Regions from separate parts of the Homo sapiens genome. Here all the other regions are linked to region 2. Evidence: promoter capture Hi-C in human tissues and cell types (Jung and others, 2019). All regions are on one chromosome and are shown on one strand. The core of a region is centred on a gene start or on the middle of the fragment in contact, and the rest is flanking DNA. Distances in the headings are between cores, read along the strand shown.

Region 1 (5,719 bases), core at 2,630-5,129, 290 kb after region 2:
CACTGCACTCCAGCCTGGTGACAGAGCAAGACTCTGTCTCAAAAAAAAAAAAAAAAAAAATTAGCCAGCCATGGTGGTGTACGTCTGTAGTCCCAGCTACTTGGGAGACTGAGGCAGGAGAATTGCTTGAATCCGGGAGACGGAGGTTGCGGTGAGCCGAGATCACGCCACTGCCCTCCAGCCTGGGCAACAGAGCGAGACTCCGTCTCAAAAAAAAAAATTAAAATATTAGCTGGGCCCGGTGGCACATGCCTGTAACCCCAGCTAATTGGGAGGCTGAGGTGGGAGAATTGCTTGAGCCCAGGAGTTCCAGGCTATAAAGTTCTAGGCCCTCAGCCCTGGTCTATCAAGTCCAAGTCTCGCAGGACACTGCTGTGGGCATGAGTCTTTCGAGAGTGTGGCCCAGTCAGGCCTGGAGTATGCTACTGCTTGGGAAGCACTGTGGGCAGCGGCTGCAGGTGACAAGATCACAGTCAAGTGTATTTGGGGCTCATCCGCCTGTGCTGCTCTCTTGGTCAGTGGGCAGCTTACTGGTGTGCTGAGTCAAATGCATTTTCAGAAGGTGACCTTGTGCCTTAGGCTTATGTCATCTGTGCCTTTGCTGACGTCATCCTCGACTCCAGCAGCCAGACCAGGGGATAACAAATGCAAATGTCTAACAGTAATTAACTCTTAGCAGCAACCTCAGCCTGGGGCTCCCCTTTCCAGGGCTTGTGGCAGCTCCACCGGGCCCTGCTGCAGCCCCTTGTCATTGAGAGGCCTCTCCCACATCCAGAGATACGAGGGGAATGTAGGGAAATGTGCATTTAGACGAAGGAAATGCATTGTCCCAAATGGCAAGTGGAGTGGCATAAACTTTGGTGAAGCTGCTGACACCCCTTTATCACAAGAAGATCGTTTGGATTAGGGGTGTGCTTTCCACAGAAATCAGGCTCTGGCCTTACTGCAGGGGGGTGACCTGTAAACCTCAGAGTTAACACAGTGGTTTAGGTTTCACCGAGTGCACTACGGTGATTAAGTCTCCACTGAGGACTGGAATGAGGAAGAAAAGGAGAAGCAGAAGAAGAACAGGAAAGACCTGTTCCCTGGGCAGAAGAGGGATGATCTGGGGAGAGCCCCAGCGAACAGCCCCAGAGTGCCGGGCCTAGCTGGGGTTTTCCAGGGATAGAGGCCGTGAGCAGCAGTGCGGATGTTGGCCGCGTCTAGCCGTCTGCTTAATAACTACCTCAGAGACCTGTTTGCCCCGCTCGGTAAAACTGGGGCCACGCTGCTTGGGCAGCCTCCAGGCGCCTGGCTGCCACTTTTTCTAGGAACTTATACAAGTCCTCATCAAGAGGGAGGGCAAAAAATTGTCGGTGAAGATGGCTGTGCTGGCATTTTGTAAGTGACAGTGGTCAAGCTCTAAGTTGTGGATGGACACGGCAGGGGGCAAAATCACCTCCTCTAAAAAACGGCCTAGCGATCCTAATGGATTGGCCGTAGAGACCCATCATTGCAGGGAGACCTGGGAAGGCCACCTGCTTCCCTGTGCCTCTGTGTCCTCAGCCACCTGAGAAAGTGTACTTCAAGAGGGAACCCAGGGAAGAAGGCTGTACAGGGTCCATGTTATTGCACCATCTCCTGTCAATTTAGGAGACATTTTCTTAATACTTCTTATTGATCAACGAATATTTTTGAGCCCCTCCTGTAAGTCAGACCCTGCTCCGGGGCACAGGGTGATGACCAAGACGGACTAAGTCTCCCCAGGGGCTAAGAATTTAGGCCCTTGCAGAGTATCTCCTCCAAGTTATTGAGCTGCCACTGAGATATCTGTGGCCACTTTGCATCCTGTCTGCATCCAGCAGGGTGGCAGTCCAGGCCTTTACAGAAGCAGACTGGGCATGAAGACATTTCTTGTGAAAAACCAGCTTCCAGGCCTCCTTCCTGGGAGGGACTCTGTGAGTGCCACGCCCAGGGCCCTGCAGCAGGTCGTGAGCAGATGCCTCTAATGATTCAAAGCTACCAACAATACTGTAAGAGGCCCCTTTCCTGCCAAAGACTACGTGGAGATCCCTTCTGGGTTTTTCTTTTTCTTTTTCTTTCTCTGTGAAGTGTACTTAAAAAAACAAAAGGTCATTGTAAAACAGGGTATTATGCTGTTTCTTCTAAAGCAGGAGGGGCTGCAGGTGCTCACAGCTGATTTCTCATTTCTGAAAAACCCTAGTTCCAGGCCTACCTTGAAGGGAGGGGCTCCTGGGAGGGAGATAAATAGTCGTATGAGGCCCTGTCCAGACACTGACACACCAGACAATCCAGCAACACTGCGGGTCGGAGGACCCTGCTGAACAGGTCGTAGCCAACAGCTCCAGGTGGCTGCATCCTAGCACCAAAGCCAGGAGACAAGAGCCCTGACTACAGGGGTGCGGAAAGGGGCACTCGCAGCCCCAGGCTTCCAGCCGCCAGAATCAAGTGCTGGGACTTCCAGCTTCCCCACAGTCAGAGCCTGACTGAATTCTCAGTCCACAGCTGAGTTATTTACAGCCTCAGTTTTTCTCTTCTGAAAAAAAGGGGTATAAACCACAGGATCCATCTCAAAGAAGTGCTATGAGGAAAAAATGACACAATGCATTTAAAGTGCAGAGAAGACACCAGCTACGCTGTGGCAGCAGAGTATGGCAGCGCCCTTCCAGAACGGCTCTCTAGTGCTGTTAAGTTTCCCCAGCATCCTGACCAGTCACTACCAAAATGTGATTTCCTGCGAACATTGTCACCCAAGCAGTGTGGTCAGGCAGGCAGAAGCCAGCCTGAAGTTTACAAATGTCTCTCTTCAGCCAGGGCAGAGCAGGTGAGGCCCTGCGTCACCCGCGCAAGGCTTGTGGTTCAGCCAGGGAGACAACGTCCTACTTCTTTCAGGGTGACCATGTTCTTCCTGGGCGCTCATTTCCTCGTGACACCCATAGGCGGCAGCTTTTCCCTATGGGGGTCCCTGGCCTTTAGGGCAAGTCCTGCCCTGTCTAGAGCCTTCTCCTCCTGGAGGAGCACACACGATGGCACCAAGCTGCTCTGACCCTGCCAGGAGCCAAAACAGCCTCTGGGAGCTCCAAGGGGCGCCCCGGGCTCAGGGTCATCTCCCACACCTTCCCTTCCCATCCCGAGGCCTGCAGAGCCCTCAAGGGCTCAGTGGCCCTGGCTCAGCTGGACCCCAGCACAGACAGGGAGGCCTCTGACCTGCACCCAGAGCCTGCCTCCCAGGGCTTCCTCACCCCAGTGTCCTAGGAGGGGGTGGCACAGATGGAGAGAGGCCAGAGGCTGCCACTCAGGAGTATGTGAGTCAAGGCTTGCTTGGGAGGTAGGGGCAGAGGTGGAGATGCCCAGGGGGCCAGGAGAAAGGGGAGGAGAGATTGGGAAATGAAGCCCTTCTGGGGCTGCCAGCTCCCCTCTACAGCTTTAGGCCATGCCAGGGGGCCCTGAAGTGAGTCAGCCCCTACAGAAAGCCCAGGCTTTCTGTAGAAAAGAGTTTCGCTTTTTTTTTTTTTGAGACAGAGTCTTGCTCTGTCACCCAGGCTGGAGTGCAGTGGCACGATCTCGGCTCACTGCAAGCTCCGCCTCCCGGGTTCACACCATTCTCCTGCCTCAGCCTCCTGAGTAACTGGGACTACAGGCGCCCGCCACCACGCCCGGCTAATTTTTTTGTATTTTTAGTAGAGACACAGGGTTTCACCGTGTTAGCCAGGATGGCCTCGATCTCCTGACCTCGTGATCCACCTGCCTTGGCCTCCCAAAGTGCTGGGATTACAGGTGTGAGCCACCACACCTGGCCAGAGTTTTGCTCTTGCCCAGACTGGCCAGGCTGGAGTGCAGTGGCGCCATCTCGGCTCACTACAACCTCTGCCTCCCGGGTTCAAGCAATTCTCCTGCCTTGGCCTCCTGAGTAGCTGGGACTACAGGCACGCGCCAGCACACCCAGCTAAGTTTTGTATTTTTTTTAGTAGAGATGGGGTTTCACCATGTTGGCCAGGATGGTCTCAATCTCTTGACCTCGTGATCTGCCCGCCTCAGCCTCCCAAAGTGCTAGGATTACAAGCGTGAGCCACCCGGCCCACTATTCCAGTTATTTTAAGATGTACATAAATTATTATGTTATCATACACTAGATTTTATTGAATCTACCATTTCACATTCTTATTGAGAGTGTAACCTCTTGAAGCCTACTGGTGCAGGAGGGATTTTGCAACCTTCCTTTGGCTTTTGTCACCTATGGAAAACTACAAACCAGCTTGCCTATCCGGTGATTGGAACCAGGAGGATTGCCGGCCTTGGGTCTGGAAATCCTATCCCATGTGTCTTCCTTCCTCCCTCCCTCCCTTCCTTGGTTCCTTCCTTCCCCTGACTAGGCCCCAGAGGGGTGGGGAGGCCTTCCTGGGCCTGGCATCAGGGCTCCTGGGCTCCCAGCCAAGTGTCCAGAGGTCACTCCTCCTGGCATCTGGATCCTTCTTATCTTCCTGAGACATAGGAGGCTCCTGCTCTGGAGATGACTGAAGGGAAAACACCTGTATTTCCAGGGCCTTGGAAATAGCCTGCTCCAGCCGGCCTTCCCGGGAGAAACTGAGAAAGGACATTGGTCCGAAGCATTTCTCTTTCGGTTTGTGCTGCGCTGAGCCTGTCCTGTGATGCGGCCCTCACCAACCAAGGACTGAACGAGAGGGACTCCATGCGAACCTGCTCAGCATACAGCAGGTGCCTCGTGGATATTCTTCCCTAAGGCTCCAGGCCAGCCAAGCACTGCATTAACCAGGTTCGGATGAACTTTAGAATGTACGCATCTGAGCTGTCATAGTTTTTTGTTTTCTTGTTTTTTTGAGATGGAGTTTCGCTCTTTCACCCAGGCTGGAGTGAAATGCCGCGATCTCAGCTCACTGCAACCTCTGCCTCCTGGGTTCAAGCCATTCTCCTGCCTCAGCCTCCCAAGTATCTGCGATTACAGGCTCCTGCCACCATGTCCAGCTAATTTTTTGTATTTTTAGTAGAGACAGGGTTTCACCATGTTGGCCAGGCTGGTCTTGAATTCCTGACCTCAGGTGATCCACCCACCTCGGCCTCCCAAAATGCTGGGATTACAGGCATGAACCACTCTACCTGACCCATAGTTCTTAAATTTAAAATCTTGATATGCTGGTGGATATGCAGCTTGATTTCTTTAAGCCGACATGGCCTGACTTTTTCAGATTCTCAGCCTGTGTTGGAGGGCTGTTGAGTGTTCTTTCTATGCAGAAAGTACGCCTGCCGTCCTCTGTTTTGTAATCGCCACCCCATCCCTGCCCAACACACACACCCACACAGCCGCAGTTACGCCGGGTCCAGCAACGCACGAACCAAGTGGAAGGTCAAGGGCTGGGGCTCCGTTTCCCTCCCCTTGAAGCTGTTTGGTTTGCTCTTGTCCCAGCCCCTGACTGAGCCGCCAGCCCAGAACGGGGGCAGCCCTCCCCCATGCAGTCAGGGCCAGAGGAGCATAATATTGCCCCCCCGGGTGCAGCCTTAGGTGCAGGAGCGTTGGGAATTTTCCATCTTGCTCTGCAGCCTGGCTTCTTAGGTCATCGTCCTGCTGCTGACATAGGCCTGGGTTGGGCGAGTTTCCTGCAGGTCAGCGAGGGCGCGGAGGCAGCGCCTGAGCCTGCTCAGGGCCTGGCTTCCTGCCTGCTGTGAGGAAGGGTGGAGGAGGGGTTCGAGGCCTCAACCATCC
Region 2 (5,136 bases), core at 2,637-5,136:
TTATATCTTTATATTTGTTATAGATTCTTATCAGAAGACACTCAGGGTTCTACAGATTTTAGATGAAGATGCACAGCTCTCCAACATTAAAATTACTGAGTCTAGCATAGTGTGCAAAGAAAGCTAGTTATTTTATGCCTAATACCATACAGAAAATTCTAGGCCGGGCATGGTGGCTCACACCCGTAATTCCAGCACTTTGGAAGGCTGAGGCGGGTGGATCACTTGAGGCCAGGAGTTTGAGACCAGCCTGGCCAACATAGTGAAACCCCTTTCTGGGAAAATACAAAAATTAGCTGGGTGTGGTGATGTGTGCCTGTAGTCCCAGCTTGGGACCCGAGGTGGGAGGATGACTTGAGCCTAGGAGATCGAGGCTGCAGTAAACCAAGAGCACGCCACTGCAATCCAGCCTGGCTGACAGAGTGAGACTGTCTCAAAAAAAAAAAAAAGAAAATTTTGGTGATTGGATATCACTGGTATATTCTCACCACACACACACACACACACACAGACACACACACACACAAAATGACCAAATTTTAATTAACAAAACAAAACCTTACATAACATCAAATCTAAAAATTCACTTGGTATTTTCATCTGCTTCTTACATATAGAGCTTTAAAGCTTACTAAAAGACTTTTAAAAAGAAACATACTTTACTCATTTCCATCCCAATCTTTCCAAACAACATACTCACCTTTGGTGTGGAAATTTCTTGCCTTGCTAACACTTACTGGCCTAGTATTTTTTGACATTTTCATTCTCAGTGGGGCGGAATGGCTAAGTGTGTAGGTGGTGGAATCAGAATGCCTGGGTTTTAATCCCAGCTCTGCTGCTTACCAGCTGCGTCACTGGAGCAAGTTGCTTAACTTCTCTTTGTTTCCTCATCTATAACATGTTGGTAGTTACAGTAATACTTCAGAATTGTTGTGAGGAATAAGAGTTAATACAAAGAAAGCAAAGTACCTGGCATATTGTGCTCCATAAGTGAAACCACTACCATGATTTTAATAACTTATTCAGCCTGGGCAACATGGCAAAACCTCATCTCTACAAAAAATATAAAAATTAGCCAGGTGTGATGGTACACGCCAGCTACTCAGGAGGCTGAGGTGGGAGGATCGTCTGAGTCTGCAGTGAGCCATAATTGTGCCACTGCACTCCAGCCTGGGTGATACAGTAAGGCCCTGTCTCAAAAAAAAAAAAAAAATTTCTTTATGCTTAGACTGAACCTAAAATGCATTTTTATTTTTATCATCTTTTTTTCTTGTGCATTATTTTTGATGAAAATATATTGTCCTGTTTGATGGATAACTTAAAAAATTCTCTATCAAAGTATATATATGTAGCTATGTTAAAACCCTAAGAATGTCTTGTTTATTTGATGAACATTCCTGGTTATCAAATTTTATTCAGATTTATTTTCCCAGCCTTACGCAGAAATGGTTCAATCCAAATTTACCTTTTTAGCTCTATATGTATCATTAAATGATAAATTTAGACCACATTATGTTTTCAAGTAGATAAATTATCATAATACTTGAATTTATTTTTGTCATAGTGCTACGATACAATTTATGTTACAAAGTGAAAGAAGGAAAAATTTGGCACATTGCCTTGGTGCCTACTTTTGGTTGAGCTATAACAGTTTGGAAATAATGACAAAAATATAAATGTCCAAAATAAAACCATTAGAATTTCTATGCTTTTATGTTGCTTTGAGTTGTTGATTTGTTTTGTTTTTGTTTTTTTGAGACGGAGTCTCGCTCTGTCGCCCAGGCTGGAGTGCAGTGGCGCGGTCTCGGCTCACTGCAAGCTCCGCCTCCCGGGTTCACGCCATTCTCCTGCCCCAGCCTCCCGAGTAGCTGGGACTACAGGCGCCCGCCACCACGCCCGGCTAATTTTTTGTATTTTATAGTAGAGACGGGGTTTCACCGTGTTAGCCAGGATGGTCTCGATCTCCTGACCTCGTGATCCACCCGCCTCCGCCTCCCAAAGTGCTGGGATTACAGGCGTGAGCCACCGTGCCCAGCCCGAGTTGTTGATTTGTAATAAACTGCTCTTCAATTGGATATTTGTGTTAAAAATAACTTTTTAGGAAATACTTCCAGTTCACGTTAGAATGTAACTTGTACTTTGAATTTTCAGTAAACTAAGAAATACACATGTAAACTGTGAAAATATATTCTGCTTCGGCAATGAAAATTGTAATTTGAGGCCAGGCGTGGTGGCTCACGCCTGTAATCCCAGCACTTTGGGAGGCTGAGGTGGGTGGATCATCTGAGGTCGGAAGTTCGATACTAGCCTGGCCAACATGGTGAAACCCCGTCTCTACTAACAATACAAAAATTAGCCGGGCGTGGTAGTGCACAACTGTAATCCCAGCTACTTGGCAGGCTGAGGTGGGGGAATCGCTTGAACCCGGGAGGCGGATGTTGCAGTGCGCCAAGATTGCGCCATTGCACTCCAGCGTGGGTGAGACCCCATCTCAAAAAAAAAAAAAAAGAAAAAAAAGAAAAAGAAAATTGTAATTTGATATTTAATTGCCACTTTGGAAAATAAAATCATGCATTTATAAATATCCCACAAAGTTTTAGTAATAAAGATTGTTGATTGCCCTGCTTGCCAGTAAGAAGGAAGAGATTTTGAATACATATAATGCAGAACTGTGTTGTTTATGAATGCCAATTCATGAAGTCTTAACAATTGGTTCTTTATTTTTGTTTTCAATTTATGGCCGAGTTTGGTTTTGCTGTTTTGGACTGTCTCAACTCCCTGCTGATGCCACCATACAGAGTCAGATCAGGTACTAACTTGTTTACTTCAGCAGCAACCTAACTTGATTTTATTACCAGGATAGAGAGCAATATGGATTTCCAACTAGTTTTTAAGGCGTAGATGGTTTTCAAATGATTATTTGTTTTTTAAAGTTTTTGGTTTTGTTTTTAGGTTCCAGTTATACATAGAATAGGAAGTGTACAATAACATTAGGCAGAGGGTAAGGAGAAGAACTTTGGCACAGAAGAGAAAGGAATATTTAATATTTGGGCCTGCTGTTGCTATGATGAAAAACATTTACAAGGTCATACAACTTTAGGGAGCATTTCTGAATTGAGACTAGTATGAAAATGGAATTTAAAGTATCAAATGAAGCCTCCCATAGCCAAAATAATGTATGTTTTGGTTTTGCCCCCTACATATTTGTGAAAACTTTCATGCTAAAACAACAATATACCATTTACCTGCAGAACCTCAGACTTGTTTGATGTTGAAGTCATGCAGTAATTGCATGATTTTTTACTTTCGTTGAACATTGCGAAAGACGGAAAAAATCTGGGACGCCCCCTCTAACATACGCACACGACTTTAAGACACAGATAAAACATTCCTTACATTTGTCAAGATGGAAGCTTACTACTGCCCTTTGCTCTCCTTCAGGTCTTTTCACTTAACACTTTCTACAGTTATACTTAAGTATTTCAGACAAGAGTAAGCAAATATCACGCCTGGGGTTCTTCTTTCGAGGGTATTTTGGCTGGACTGTCACCCACGTTTGGAATGGAAAGTGCAGCACGAGCCGTACATTTTACATTTTTCAGCAACCACATCCCATCACTAGCCTTTGAAGTACAACGACACAGCTGTCTTCATTTTACAAGTGCAAAAACCGAGGTCCTGCGGGGTGACTGCCCCAGACGCCGCTGGTGACGGGCTGCGCCGAGGTCGAGACGCCAGGCTTCAGGTACACGTACCAGAAATGACGTCACAGGCGGTGCCAGGCGGGGATCCACGAGCTCTGGATGCTTGCTTGGCCGGAAGCGACGCCCCGCAAGGACCCGCCCCGCCCCGCCCCGCCCCGCGCGAGCCGGTAGTTGCGCCTCCCAGACTGCAGTTGGCCAGCTCTCGGGGTGCGGAGCCCGGCGGGCTAGGCGAGGCGCGGGCTGGCCCCGCCCCTCAGGCCGGCGAGTCCCCTTCTCAGAGACTTGGCTAGGCGCGGCGCGAGGCGGGCGCTGGGCGGGTGAGTCCCACTTCCCGACAGCCTGGCTCGGCCAGCGACTGGGCGGGGAGACCAAGGATGGAAGTGGGCTTACCGGCCATTACCCTCTTTCTCACCAGCGCCAGCAGCCCTGTGGTGGCGACGACGATGGACCAGGAGCCAGTGGGCGGTGTGGAACGAGGAGAAGCCGTCGCAGCCTCGGGAGCTGCGGCCGCCGCGGCATTCGGGGAATCTGCAGGGCAGGTAGGTGGGGCCGCCGAGGCTGACGTCCGGGGAGCCGAGCCGCCTCCTTGCCTTCTCCGCGGGCCGCTCTTTTAGCCTGCGCGGCCGTCCTCCGAGCAGGCCGCCCCAGCTTTGGAGTTCCTCCTCACTGCACCCCTGTTTCTGCTCACTGAGACCAGCTTGTGGGAAGGAGCGCCCCCCGCCTCACTCACCAACCCCTTGGCTGGCAGCACAGCAGACTCTGGGGCGGCCTCGGGTTCCTGGGGTGATAGTCCAGCTTCTGGTCTACCAGAGGAAGAAGAAAGGCGTGTCCCCCAAAGGCTGTCCTTGCAGTAGCTGGAAGCCAGGTGAGGGCGGCTTCAACCACTTCTCAGTCTCTTCTGGTGCGAGCGCCTGCCTGGGCATCTGCCCTTTGCTTGGCATATGCCAAACGTTTACCAGCTTTAATTCACTGGATCCTTACAGTAACCGCTCGAGGTGGGTGTTAGCCCCATTTCACCGCCGAGGCAACTAAGGCTCCGAGCTGCGCTGTCCAACATAAATAGAATGCAAGCTGCATTGAAAATTGTAATTTAAAATTTTCCAGTAGGCACGTTTTAAAAAAGTGAAACCGATATTAATTTTAATAGCATATCTTATTTAACCTAATTTATCAAAACAATTTCAACCTAAAATTACTATGAAAGTTATTAATGAAGTATTTGCATTCTCTTTTGGAGTCTTTTCTAAGTCTTTTAAATCCTGGGTGCATTTTACACGCATAGCATATCGCAGTTCTGGCTGACCACATTTCAAGTGCGCATTAGCCACATGTGGCTAGTGGTTACTGTATTGGACAGCGCTGGTTTAGAGAGTTAACGTTTCTTGCAACTTTTCAGTATTAGACAAAAAGACACTTTGGGAGGCCAAGGCGG
Region 3 (5,720 bases), core at 426-2,925, 460 kb before region 2:
ATCAGCATTTGACAGATAAACTATTTAGTTAAAAGTGAAAATAAATTCTTAAGTAGAAATTGGTTATTCATTTTTTTCTTTTTTTTTTTTTTGAGATGGGCTATCATTCTGTCACCCCGTTCTGGCACAAACCTATGGTCCCAGCTACCCAGGAGGCTGAAGCAAGAGGATTGCTTGAGCACAGGAGTTCAAGGCTGCAGTGCTCTATGACTGCACCTGCGAATAGCTACTGTATGCCAGCCTGAGCCACACAGCAAGATCCACTCTCAAAAAACAAAAAAGGGCACAGGTTCAAGTATTCTGTAAAATATGTAATTAAAATGACATCATAAATGAATTAGGGCAAATACTACTCAAAGCAAAAACAATTTTACGAACTTTGCTTTCACTCAAAAGAACTTGCTTTGACAGATTTACGTTAGAGAACAGATGGCAAGGTTGACTTTTTTCCTTCTTCCTGATAAGAAGAATTAACTCTTTGGGAAGGTGGCTTTTTTTTTTTTTTAAGACGGAGTTTCTCTCTTGTTGCCAAGGCTAGAGTACAATGGCGCAATCTCGGCTCACTGCAACCTCTGCCTCCCAGGTTCAAGCGATTCTCCTGCCTCAGCCTCCTGAGTAGCTGGGATTACAGGCATGCGCCACCACGCCAGGCTAATTTTGTGTTTTTAGTAGAGATGGGGTTTCTCCATGTTGGTCAGGCTGGTCTCCAACTCCTGACCTCAGGTGATTCACCTGCCTTGGCCTCCCAAAGTGCTGGGATTACAGGTGTGAGCCACTGTGCCCGGCTGGTGGCATTTTAATTAGTGTAAGCTATCATACCTTGCTTTGCCAAAAAGCGTGACTTTTAAATATCTGAGACAGAATACACTAGAGAAAAGGTCAAGGATGTGGTTTAGAGAAAGGCATAGACTATGAAAATAGTTTTCCTGCTTAAAAATATGTTTAATTTTTAGTTTTTTTGAAACCAAGTCTTGCTCTGTCGCCCAGGCTGGGGTGCAGTGGTGTGATCTTGGCTCACTGCAATCTCTGCCTCCCAGGTTCAAGTGATTCTCACGCCTCAGCCTCTCAAGTAGCAGGGATTACAGGTGTACACCACCATGTCTAATTTTTGTGTTTTTAGAGAACACGCCACTGCACTCCAGCCTGGGTGACAGAGCAAGACACCGTCTTCCGGGGGGCGGGTGGCAGAATCAATTTCACCTTCAATGAAATACATAAACACATATACATACATACATACATATATATATATTCTAATTCCCAAATGGCAGTTCTTATTTATAAGCTTTATCAAAACTTAAGAACACTCTAACATAAATTCGGTTCTTCCACTCTCTTACACACAAATCAGCCCATTTTCATAAATAAAACACAGTTGGGGAGGAAGAAAAAAAAATATATATAGAGAGAGAGAGTAAAGTCGATTTTTATTTCTCAGATTTAAAAAATAGGACAGAAAGGGAGAAGAAAAAATATCAACCCAAGTTTTTTCTTTTTTCTTTTTTTTTCTGAGATGGAATTTTGCTCTTGTTGCCCAGGCTGGAGTGCAATGCTGTGATCTCGGCTCAACGCAACCTTCGTCTCCTGGGTTTAAGCGATTCTCCTGCCTCAGCCTCCCAAGTAGCTGGGATTACAGACACCTGCCACCACACTTGGCTAATTTTGTATTTTTAGTGGAGACAGGGTTTCTCCATGTTGGTCAGGCTGGTCTCAAACTCCCGACCTGAGGTGTTCTGCCCGCCTCGGCCTCTCAAAGTGCTGAGATTACTGGCGTGAGCCACCATGCCCAGCCCTCAACCCAAGTTTTTAAAGGAGGTCCTTATTATCAATGTGTTTTGACAAAAATATTCCAAAAGTTTTGTATTAGAAGTATTGTTGGCCGGGAGAAGTGGCTCACAGGCTGTAATCCCAGCACTTTGGGAGGCTGAGTCGGGCAGGCCACTTGAAGTCAAGGGCTTGAGACCAGCCTGGCCAATATGGTGAAACCCCATCTCTACTAAAAATACAAGAATTAGCCAGGCATGGTGGCAGGCACCTGTAATCCCAGCTACTTTGGAAGCTGAGGTGGGAGAACTGCTTGAACGTGGAAGGAGAATGTTGCAGAGAGCCATGATCGTGCCACTGCACTCCAGCCTGGGTGACAGAATAAGACCCTGTTTCAAAACAAAAACTAAAACAAAAACCAAAAGTATTGTGTGCATCCAGGCTGCCAATAGAAAATTTTCTCTGCTTTATTTATATTTCATATATATTTTTTGAGATAGTCTTGCTCTGTCACCAGGCTGGAGTGCAGCAGCATGATCTTGGCTCACTGCAACCTCCGCCTCCCGGGTTCAAGTGATTCTTGTGCCTCAGCCTCCCGAGTAGCTAGCTGGGATTACAGGCACACACCACCGACACCTGGGTAATTTTTGTATTTTTTGGTAGAGATAGGGTTTAGCAATGTTGGCCAGGTTGGTCTTGAACTCCGGACCTCAGGTTTTCCACCTCCCAAAGTGCTGGGATTACAGGCATGAGCCACTGTGCCCAGCTATATTTCATGTTTTATTTATTTATTTTTTTTGAGATGGAGTCTCACTCTGTTGCCCAGGCTGGAGTGCAAAGGTGGAATCTCAGCTCACTGCAACCTCTGCCTCCCAGGTTCAAACAATCCCTGCCTCAGCCTCCTGAGTAGCTGGGATTACAGGTGTGTGTCACCCCGCCTGGCTAATTTTTGTATTTTTAGTAGAGACGGGGTTTCACCGTGTTGGTCAGGCTGGTCTTGAACTCCTGACCTCTTAATCCACCCACCTTCGCCTCCCAAAGTGCTGGGATTACAGGCGTGAGCCACCGCGCCCAGCCTATTTCACGTTTTAAATTAGAACACTTACTTGCATATATCTGTAGAATCCTGAGTTCCTAAAGCATATAATGAAGAACCAATTCTATTGTAATCATCTGCAGCACCTATGGAGAAAGTTTTAAGAATTTAGTATACCTATTCATAGATTTAAAAATACTTACTGAGCAATTACCTCTCAAACAATGTGTAATATGAGACACTCTAGTAAAGAAAATAACGCAAGCAACAGGCATGGTGGCTCATGCCTGTAATCCCAACACTTTGGGAGGCTGGGGCAGGCAGATCACCTGAGGTCAGGAGTTTTGAGACCAGCTGGGCCAACATGGTGAAATCCCATCTCTATCAAAAATAAAAAAATCAGCCAGGTGTGGTTGCACATGCCTGTAATCCCAGCTACTCGGGAGGCTGAGGCAGGAGAATCATCTGAACCCAGGACACAGAGGTTGCAGTGAGCCAAGATCACGCCACCGCACTCCAGCCTGGGTGACAGAGCAAGACTCCGTCTCAAACAAAAAAACAAATTGGAGGTCGGGCGCAGTAGCTCATGCCTGTAATCCCAGCACTTTGGGAGGCCGTGGCAGGTGGATCATGAGGTCAGGAGATTAGGATCATCCTGGCTAACACGGTAAAACCCCGTCTCTACTAAAAATACAAAATATTAGCCGGGCATGGTAGTGGGCACCTGTAGTCCCAGCTACTGGAAAGGCTGAGGCAGGAGAATGGCGTGAACCCGGGAGGCGGAGGTTGCAGTGAGCCGAGATCACACCACTGCACTCCAGCCTGGGCAACAGAGCAAGACTCTGTCTCAAAAAAAAAAAAAAAAAAAAAAAAACAACTGGAAAATAAGAAGTATAACTTTCTTCATTAATAGACGTGACATGATCATCTATGTAAAAATCCTAAGGAATCTACAAAATAATTACTAGAACTAATAAGTGAGTTTATTTAGCAAGGTTGCAGGATATAAGATCAATATTGAAAAAAATATGCTGTGTTTCTATGTATTAGCAAAGAACAATTTGAAATTGAAATTTTAAAAAACATAACATGGCCGGGCACGGTGGCTCATGCCTGTAATCCCAGCACTTTGGGAGGCCAAGGCGGGCAGATCATGAGGTTAGGAGATTGAGACCATCCTGGCTAACACGGTGAAACCCCATCTCTACTAAAAATACAAAAGAATTAGCCGAGTGTGGTGGCAGGCACCTGTAGTCCTAGCTACTCGGGAAGCTGTGGCAGGAGAATGGCGTGAACCCGGGAGGTGGAGGTTGCAGTGAGCCAAGATCGTGCCACTGCACTCCAGCCTGGGCGACAGAGCAAGACTCCATCTCAAAAAAAAAAAAAAAAAAAAAAAAAAAAGGGCATCTAAGATTTTGGAGACAAAAATCCTGGGCGATAGAGCTAGACTCCATCTCAAAACAAACAAACAAACAAAATTTATTTATTTGGAGACAGGGTCTCACTCTGTTGCTCAGGCATGAGCACGGTGGCATGATCACGGCTCACTGCAGTCTCAAGCTCCTGGGCTCAAGTGATTCTCCCACCTCAGCCTCCCAAGTAGCTGGGACCACAGGCACATGCCACCACGGTTGGCTAATTTTTTTTTTTTTTTTTTTTTGGCGGGGGAGGGATAAGGCCTGACTCTGCCACCCAGGCTGGAGTGCAGTGGTGGGGTCTTGGCTCACTGCAACCTCCACCACCCGGGTTCAAGTGATTCTCGTGCCTCAGCCTCTCAAGTAGCTGGGACTACAGGGGCATGCCACCATGCCCAGCTAATTTTTGTATTTTTAGTAGAGATGGGGTTTCTTTTTTTTTTTTCTTTTTGAGACAGAGTCTCACTCTGTCACCCAGGCTGGAGTGCAGTGGCACAATCTCAGCTCACTGCAAGCTCTGCATCCCAGGTTCACATCATTCTCCTGCCTCAGCCTCTTGAGTAGCTGGGATTACAGGCGCCCGCCACCACGCCCAGCTAATTTTTTGTATTTTTAGTAGAGACAGGGTTTCACCGTGCTAGCCAGGATGGTATCGATCTCTTGACCTTGTGATCGGCCCGCCTTAGCTTCCCAAAGTGCTGGGATTACAGGTGTGAGTCACTGCGCCCAGCCAGAGATGTGGTTTCATCATGTGGGCGAGGCTGACCTCGAACTCCTGACTTAATGTGATCCCCTTGCCTCAGCATCCCAAAATGCTGGGATTACAGGCATGAGCCAACATACCCGGCCTATTTTTTGCAAAGATTGGGTTTCACCATGTTGCCCAGGCTGGTCTCGAACTCCTGAGCTCAAGCGATCCACCCACCTCAGCCTCCTAAAGTGCTGGAATTACAGGTTTGAGTCACTGTCTCCAGCCTAATAAAACATAAAACTTATAATAGCATAAAAAACCAAATAATCAGGAACCAATCTGACTAAAGATGTATAAGATCTATACAATGAAAACTACAAAACACTGCTGAGATAAATTAACGAAGACCTGAGTCAGTGGAAATATGCTATATTAATGTATCAGAAGGATCAATATTGTTAAGATGCCAGTTCTCTCCAAATTAATCTATAGAATCTACACAATCCCAATCAAAATCCCAGCAGGCCCTTGTGTTGAAAAAGACAGCTGATTCTAAAATTCATATGAAAATATAAAGATTTTAGGGCTGAGGGCAGTGGTTCACACCTGTAATCGCTCCCTCCTTTGGGAGGCTGAGGCAGGTCGATCACATGAGGTCAAGAGTTCAAGACCAGCCTGGCCAACATGGCAAAACTCTGTCTCTACTAAAAATGCAAAAATTAGCCAGGTGTGGTAGCATGCATCTGTAGTCCCAGCTGCTCGGGAGGCTGAGGCACGAGGATTGCCTGAACCTGTGAGGCGGAGGTTGCAGTGA
Region 4 (5,355 bases), core at 786-3,285, 390 kb after region 2:
ACAGGCCTGGAAGGGGCACTTTGGAAGCCCCTTGGCTTCAGTTGCTCGCTTCTGGGTGTGCTCCCTTAGAAGGCCCAGATAAGACAGGGAACACCTGTGGGCACACAGAACAGGCACCTGATGCCCTGATGCCCTGTGGTGTTTGGCATGTGCCCCCTGTCTACTGACCAATCAGCATGGCATGAGGCCCACGCCACCCAAACCTTTCACTTTCCAAAGAGCTAGCCGTCCTCCTCCCAGTACCATGGTGTCCTAGCCTGTCTGCATTTGTTAGTAGTAATATTCTTTATGTATAATAAATTTTTATAACTACCCCCCCAAAAAAGTGGTAACTATTGTCATAGAGAAGCTTTGCTTTTTGTTGTTTTTTAATAATTTCAGCTTTTATTTTAGATTCAGGGAGTACACGTGCAGGTTTGTTACATGCGTACATTGCTTGATGTTGAGATGTGGAATACAAATGATCTTGTCACCCCGGATAGTGAGTATAGTACCCAGTAGGTAGTTTTTTAATTCTTGCTCCATTCCCCCCTCGCCGCTCTAGTAGTCCCCATATCTATTGTTTCCATCTTCATTTCCATGAGTTCCTAATGTTTAACTCCCACTTATAAGTGAGAACATGCCATATTTGGTTTTCTGTTCCTGCGTTAATTTGGAGAAGCTTTACATTTTTTTTTTTTTTGAGATGGAGTCTCGCTCTGTCACCAGGCTGGAGTGCAGGGGCTTGATCTTGGCTCACTGCTACCTCCACCTCCAGGGTTCAAGCGATTCTCCTGACTCAGCCTCCCAAGTAGCTGGGACTACAGGTGCATGCCACCATGTCTGGCTAATTTTTGTATTTTTAGTAGAGGCAGGGTTTCACCATGTTGGCCAGGATGGTCTAGACGTCTTGACCTCATGATCTACGCGCCTCGGCCTCCCAAAGTGCTGGGATTACTGGCGTGAGCCACCACGCCTGGCCGAAGCTTTACATTTTAATATAGTTTAATTTAATACGTGTGTTTGTTTTATGCTTTTCATCTTGTTTGTGTCCAGATGTCATAGAGAATCTTCTAATCTTCTAAATTGTCTTCTAATTACTTTAAATTTTCATTTTTCCCAATTAGGTGTTTAAACATTTAAAAATTAATCCAAGTATAGTAGTGCTTTTTTCTGACCCAGCTTGCTAAAGGGACAGGGCTCCTGACAACTTTAAAGAATCTGGATGGTCTACTAAAAGATAAATTCAAATAGTGTCATTTTAGGCACAGATTTGTTGTTGGGGGCGCGGTGTGAGAGTGGTGATGGGTAATATGTGCATGGTAACAACAACAATAAAAAATTTCAAGCCTCTTGCCATGTGGCCTGTTGTCCCAGCTACTTGGTGGGGGGTGGGGGGGGTGCTGAGGCAGGAGGATTGCTTAAGGCCAGGAGTTTGAGCCCTTGAATAACCACTGCATTCGGCCTGGGCAACATAATGAGACCCTTTCTCTTAAATCAAAACAATCAAACATCCAACAGGTTTACAATAATGAAAAACAAATTTATTTTAAGATTAATAGGGGAGAAGTTAGCACTGTGTTTTCTACAGTTTTTTAATTTATAGTGTTGGGGATTTTGTGACTTTTTGATTGACTGATTGAGACAGGCTTTGTCACCCAGACTGGAGTGCAGTGGCTCAATCATGGCTCAATGCAGACTTAACCTCACTTTTTGTAGAAACTGGGTTTCACTATGTTACCCAGGCTGGTCTTGAACTGCTGGCCTCAAGTGACCCACTCGCCTTGGCCTCCCAAAGTGCTGGAATTACAGGCGTGAGCTACTGAACCTGGCCCCTTGTGACCTTCTCTATTTTAGTGCATCATAGATGCCATTACATGTGGGTCCCATTCAACACGCAGGCTATGAAAACTGCACTATTTGAAAGTACATTGCTTGCAGATATGGGATTCTTAGTACAAATTCCAAGAAAATAGGGCTTGGGGGGTAATTTGTAGTTTACTGGGAAAGAGCCTTCCAATATTTTCAGCGGATCCCAGAAGATTCCCCATTCTAATCTTGTGGCTGGAACAATGCCGAGCACATAGTAAGTGCTTTATAAGTGTTGATTCACTGATTGATTATAGAAGGTGCTGAACTACCCAAACTTTTGACTTTGACATCTACCTAGAAGTGCTTGTCCTGCAGAGGAAAGCTGAGATCCTGGTATTAACGTATACTATAGAGCAATGATTTATCAAGTCTGCCCACCTGCTATTTTGAGTATTTAAAAATTGCAACAAACATGGTGCTTTGGAATGATTTATTAATGTACAATTTGTACATTAATATTGTTAGGCATGGATTTTAGTTCAACATACTTTGCATTAAGTTCAGTTCAAAGAGTATTTTTGTGAAATTACTGTGTGCTTCACTAACCTCTGAGGGCACAATGATGAGGGCACAATCTCTGCTTTAACTTAATCAGGATGATGCTCCCTCTCTGTATTATAAATATGGAAAACAAGGCCTATCTAATCTTAGTCCATATTTGTCTGGCAAAATTCTTACCTTATATTAAAAAAAACCACACAAAGTCTTTAATCGTATGTCTAAGCCCAAAACAATATTCCCAGTAGGCCTTATGGAATTGGGTAAAGGATTCAACAATAAGGGAAGCAATGTTTCAGAGGGCAGAAGTGAGATGCATGTTGGTTTATGGAACATGAAGGAAATAGTAGGAAGCCGTTATTAATCTAACTACACCATTCCCCATACAAAGCCTGGAAGGAGTCTCCCTGACTAGGAAGTGGTGTCGCGGGGCTCCCCTATCTACAGTTAAATGTGCTTGTGAAGGGTGTCTGTTGCCTTCTTTCTTCTCTAGTATGCACCAGCACCCTTCCACCCACCACTCAATTCTCCTTGTACTTTGGTTTTGCTTTGCCTGGCTCAATTCAGGGCTTTGCAATATAATGTCTAGAGGTTTAGTATTGTCACTGTAGAATCAAATGAGCCTGGAGGTTATTTGGTTTTAATTATCATTCACTGAAACAATCAATGTAGAGGATTTAGTCATTCAAATGGTTACCGGAGGGACATTTAGGTAATTGCAACTGTTGAATGTTCTCTCTTCTGCTAATTGTTTTTATTGAATGAGATTTATATCTAGGTATTAAAGAGAAGTTGTAGCTGTGAGTATCACAGGCCAACATTTTGGAAGGAAGTGGTGGGAAGGAGATCTGGGCCCTAAGCTTGGCCCTGCTTTTCATTTTTTTTTTTTTCATTTTTATTTTTTTGATACGAAGTCTCACTCTGTCGCTGGAGTGCAGTGGTGCGATCTTGACTCACTGCAACCTCTGCCTCCCGGGTTCAAGTGATTCTCCTGCCTCAGCCTCCCGAGTAGCTGGAATTACAGGTGCCCACCGGCATACCTGGCTAATTTTTTTTTTTTTTTTTTAATTTTTAGTAGAGATGGGGTTTTATCATGTTGGCCAGGCTGGTCTCAAACTCCCAACTTCAAGTGATCCGCTCGCCTCGGCCTCCCAAAGTGCTGAAATTACAGGCGTGAGCCACCGCACCCGGCCTTCACTCTTTTATAAATGCCTCACTTCTAGGTTTTCAAAATGTCATGTAAGTATACAGTCTAGTGTCTGTCATCACAAACATGTACATTTGGTCATGTCACTGTGCTTAGTTGCCATAACAGACACTTTTAAGATTATATAAAATAATATGCACTGCCCTAAATGGAATTTTCTGAGTGTAGTATTTTGATTGGGTTTTCAATTTCTTATGTAAGCACCTAAGGTTACCATTCTATTTAGTGCTCTTCAGGATGAAAAATATTTTGTCTTCCCACCTAGTTTCAGTGAATGAGGCCTGCAAATTTAACTGACTAAAGACAGATTAACAGGAAAAAAATGTATGATTTTTATTGATATTAATACTTTTAAATGCATGGAAGCTTCACAGAGATGATGTGAAAACTCAAAGACGTGCTCAGAACTTGAATTTTTTTTTTTGAGATAGTGTTTCACTCTGTCGCTCAGGCTGGAGCGCAGTGGCATAATCTCTGACTGCCAGGTTCAAGTGATTCTCCTGTCTCCATCTCCTGAGTAGATGGGACTACAGGCATGTGCCACCATGCCCCACTAATTTTTGAAATCCACCCGCCTCAGCCTCCCAAAGTGCTGGGATTACAGGTGTGAGCCACTGCACCTGGCCAGAACCTGGAGTTTGTATACCCTTCTTAAAAAAAGAAGATGGGTTTGGGCTTCAAGGGAAAATATTGTGGGAATTGACTAGGAAATATATGAAGGAAACTAATGGGAGATAAGGGTTATTTTAGTAGGGCTTGTTTATGAGGAGTCATCTTGGTGTGACATCTCTGGTAATGAGTCATTCTCAGTTTCCTGGCATAGAGGAGTACCTTCCTCAAAGGAAAATTTATGTCCTGTTTTTAGGCAGATAAAGGGAGGGCAGAGACCTTTTCCTCCATCAGTTGCCTTCAGCTCAAAATAATCCTTATGCCAAAGTGGCATATTTTGGGATGGCATATCCTGATCTCTTTCAGTAGCATCTCCCCATTTTTAGAAAGAAAGAAATGGAAGTATAGTAAGATTAGAGGATTTGGCTCTATTCACATGGCAAATTAGTGGCTTAGCTGGAACCAGAATCCCAATCTTCTGATCATGAGTCTTATAATTACTTTTATTATCTGAAGGTCAGGACCCAGCAGATGCTTTGGTTGGCAACAGAAGCATCAGGGTACACAGACTTTAGTAACCAATTCCTCCTAGACAAATGAGTGTTTACATTTTCAGTCTCAATGAAGGTTAAATTTTAGCATCTAACTACGTTGAAGAAGCGTTTGTACATGTTCTCCTTTTTCTTTATTAAGGAAATGTACACACACACAAAACCTTTACAATCCCATGATTCTGAAATAATGCAATTCCCACTGAAATAGTTATTTTGAGTTATCTTTGAAAGGAATTTTTTACTGGCTCAGTTATTTGTTCTCAGATAATTAGACCTCTTTCTCTACTTTTCAAGTGATTTAGTATCTTTTTTTCTGGATATGAAAGTTCTAAGTCCTCTGTTTATTAAAATTTCCAACATTACAGATATATACAACATGGTTATTAACAATATACTGTGTCTATCACACTCAGAGATAATCACTGCCAATTACTTAGTGTATTTCTCTCTAGGTTTTTTTCTATGTACATACTAAAAATATTTTTTTCACACAAAAATGGGATCATGTTATTCATACTGTTTTTTAAAACTTGAAGTAAAATCTATACAACATAAAATTTATCATTTTAGCCATTTTAAACTGTACAATTCAGTGTCTTTTAGTATAGCCACAATGTTATGCAACCAATTACCACT

What was found. The method cuts DNA at HindIII sites, captures the fragments that hold promoters and counts their contacts. A contact is called where the count stands out against the background at its distance.
Region 1: a contact is called between a fragment that was not itself captured here and the fragment with the promoter of FAM177A1 in region 2, in 1 of the 25 tissues and cell types used here (heart right ventricle).
Region 3: a contact is called between a fragment that was not itself captured here and the fragment with the promoter of FAM177A1 in region 2, in 1 of the 25 tissues and cell types used here (lymphoblastoid cells).
Region 4: a contact is called between a fragment that was not itself captured here and the fragment with the promoter of FAM177A1 in region 2, in 1 of the 25 tissues and cell types used here (lymphoblastoid cells).

The regions. Positions count from the first base shown.
Region 1 is chr14:35,331,244-35,336,962 of GRCh38, forward strand. No RefSeq gene overlaps it. Among named protein-coding and RNA genes, the nearest start is that of PSMA6, 42 kb to the left of the region's middle. RefSeq lists enhancers at 420-714, 880-1,801, 1,812-2,421, 5,306-5,719. The HindIII fragment of the contact is 5,959 bases long and covers 901-5,719 here.
Region 2 is chr14:35,042,386-35,047,521 of GRCh38, forward strand. FAM177A1 (family with sequence similarity 177 member A1) reads left to right here and starts at 3,887. Exons shown (of 5, transcript NM_173607.5): 1 at 3,887-4,243. The coding sequence starts at 4,079. RefSeq lists enhancers at 3,407-3,606, 4,327-4,596, 4,697-4,756 and a silencer at 3,727-4,076. The HindIII fragment of the contact is 5,057 bases long and covers 1-4,435 here.
Region 3 is chr14:34,583,360-34,589,079 of GRCh38, forward strand. It overlaps SNX6 (sorting nexin 6), which reads right to left. Exons shown (of 14, transcript NM_152233.4): 9 at 2,871-2,946. Among named protein-coding and RNA genes, the nearest start is that of SNX6, 44 kb to the right of the region's middle. The HindIII fragment of the contact is 6,294 bases long and covers 1-4,822 here.
Region 4 is chr14:35,431,019-35,436,373 of GRCh38, forward strand. It overlaps the pseudogene DNAJC8P1. Among named protein-coding and RNA genes, the nearest start is that of NFKBIA, 29 kb to the left of the region's middle. The HindIII fragment of the contact is 3,060 bases long and covers 506-3,565 here.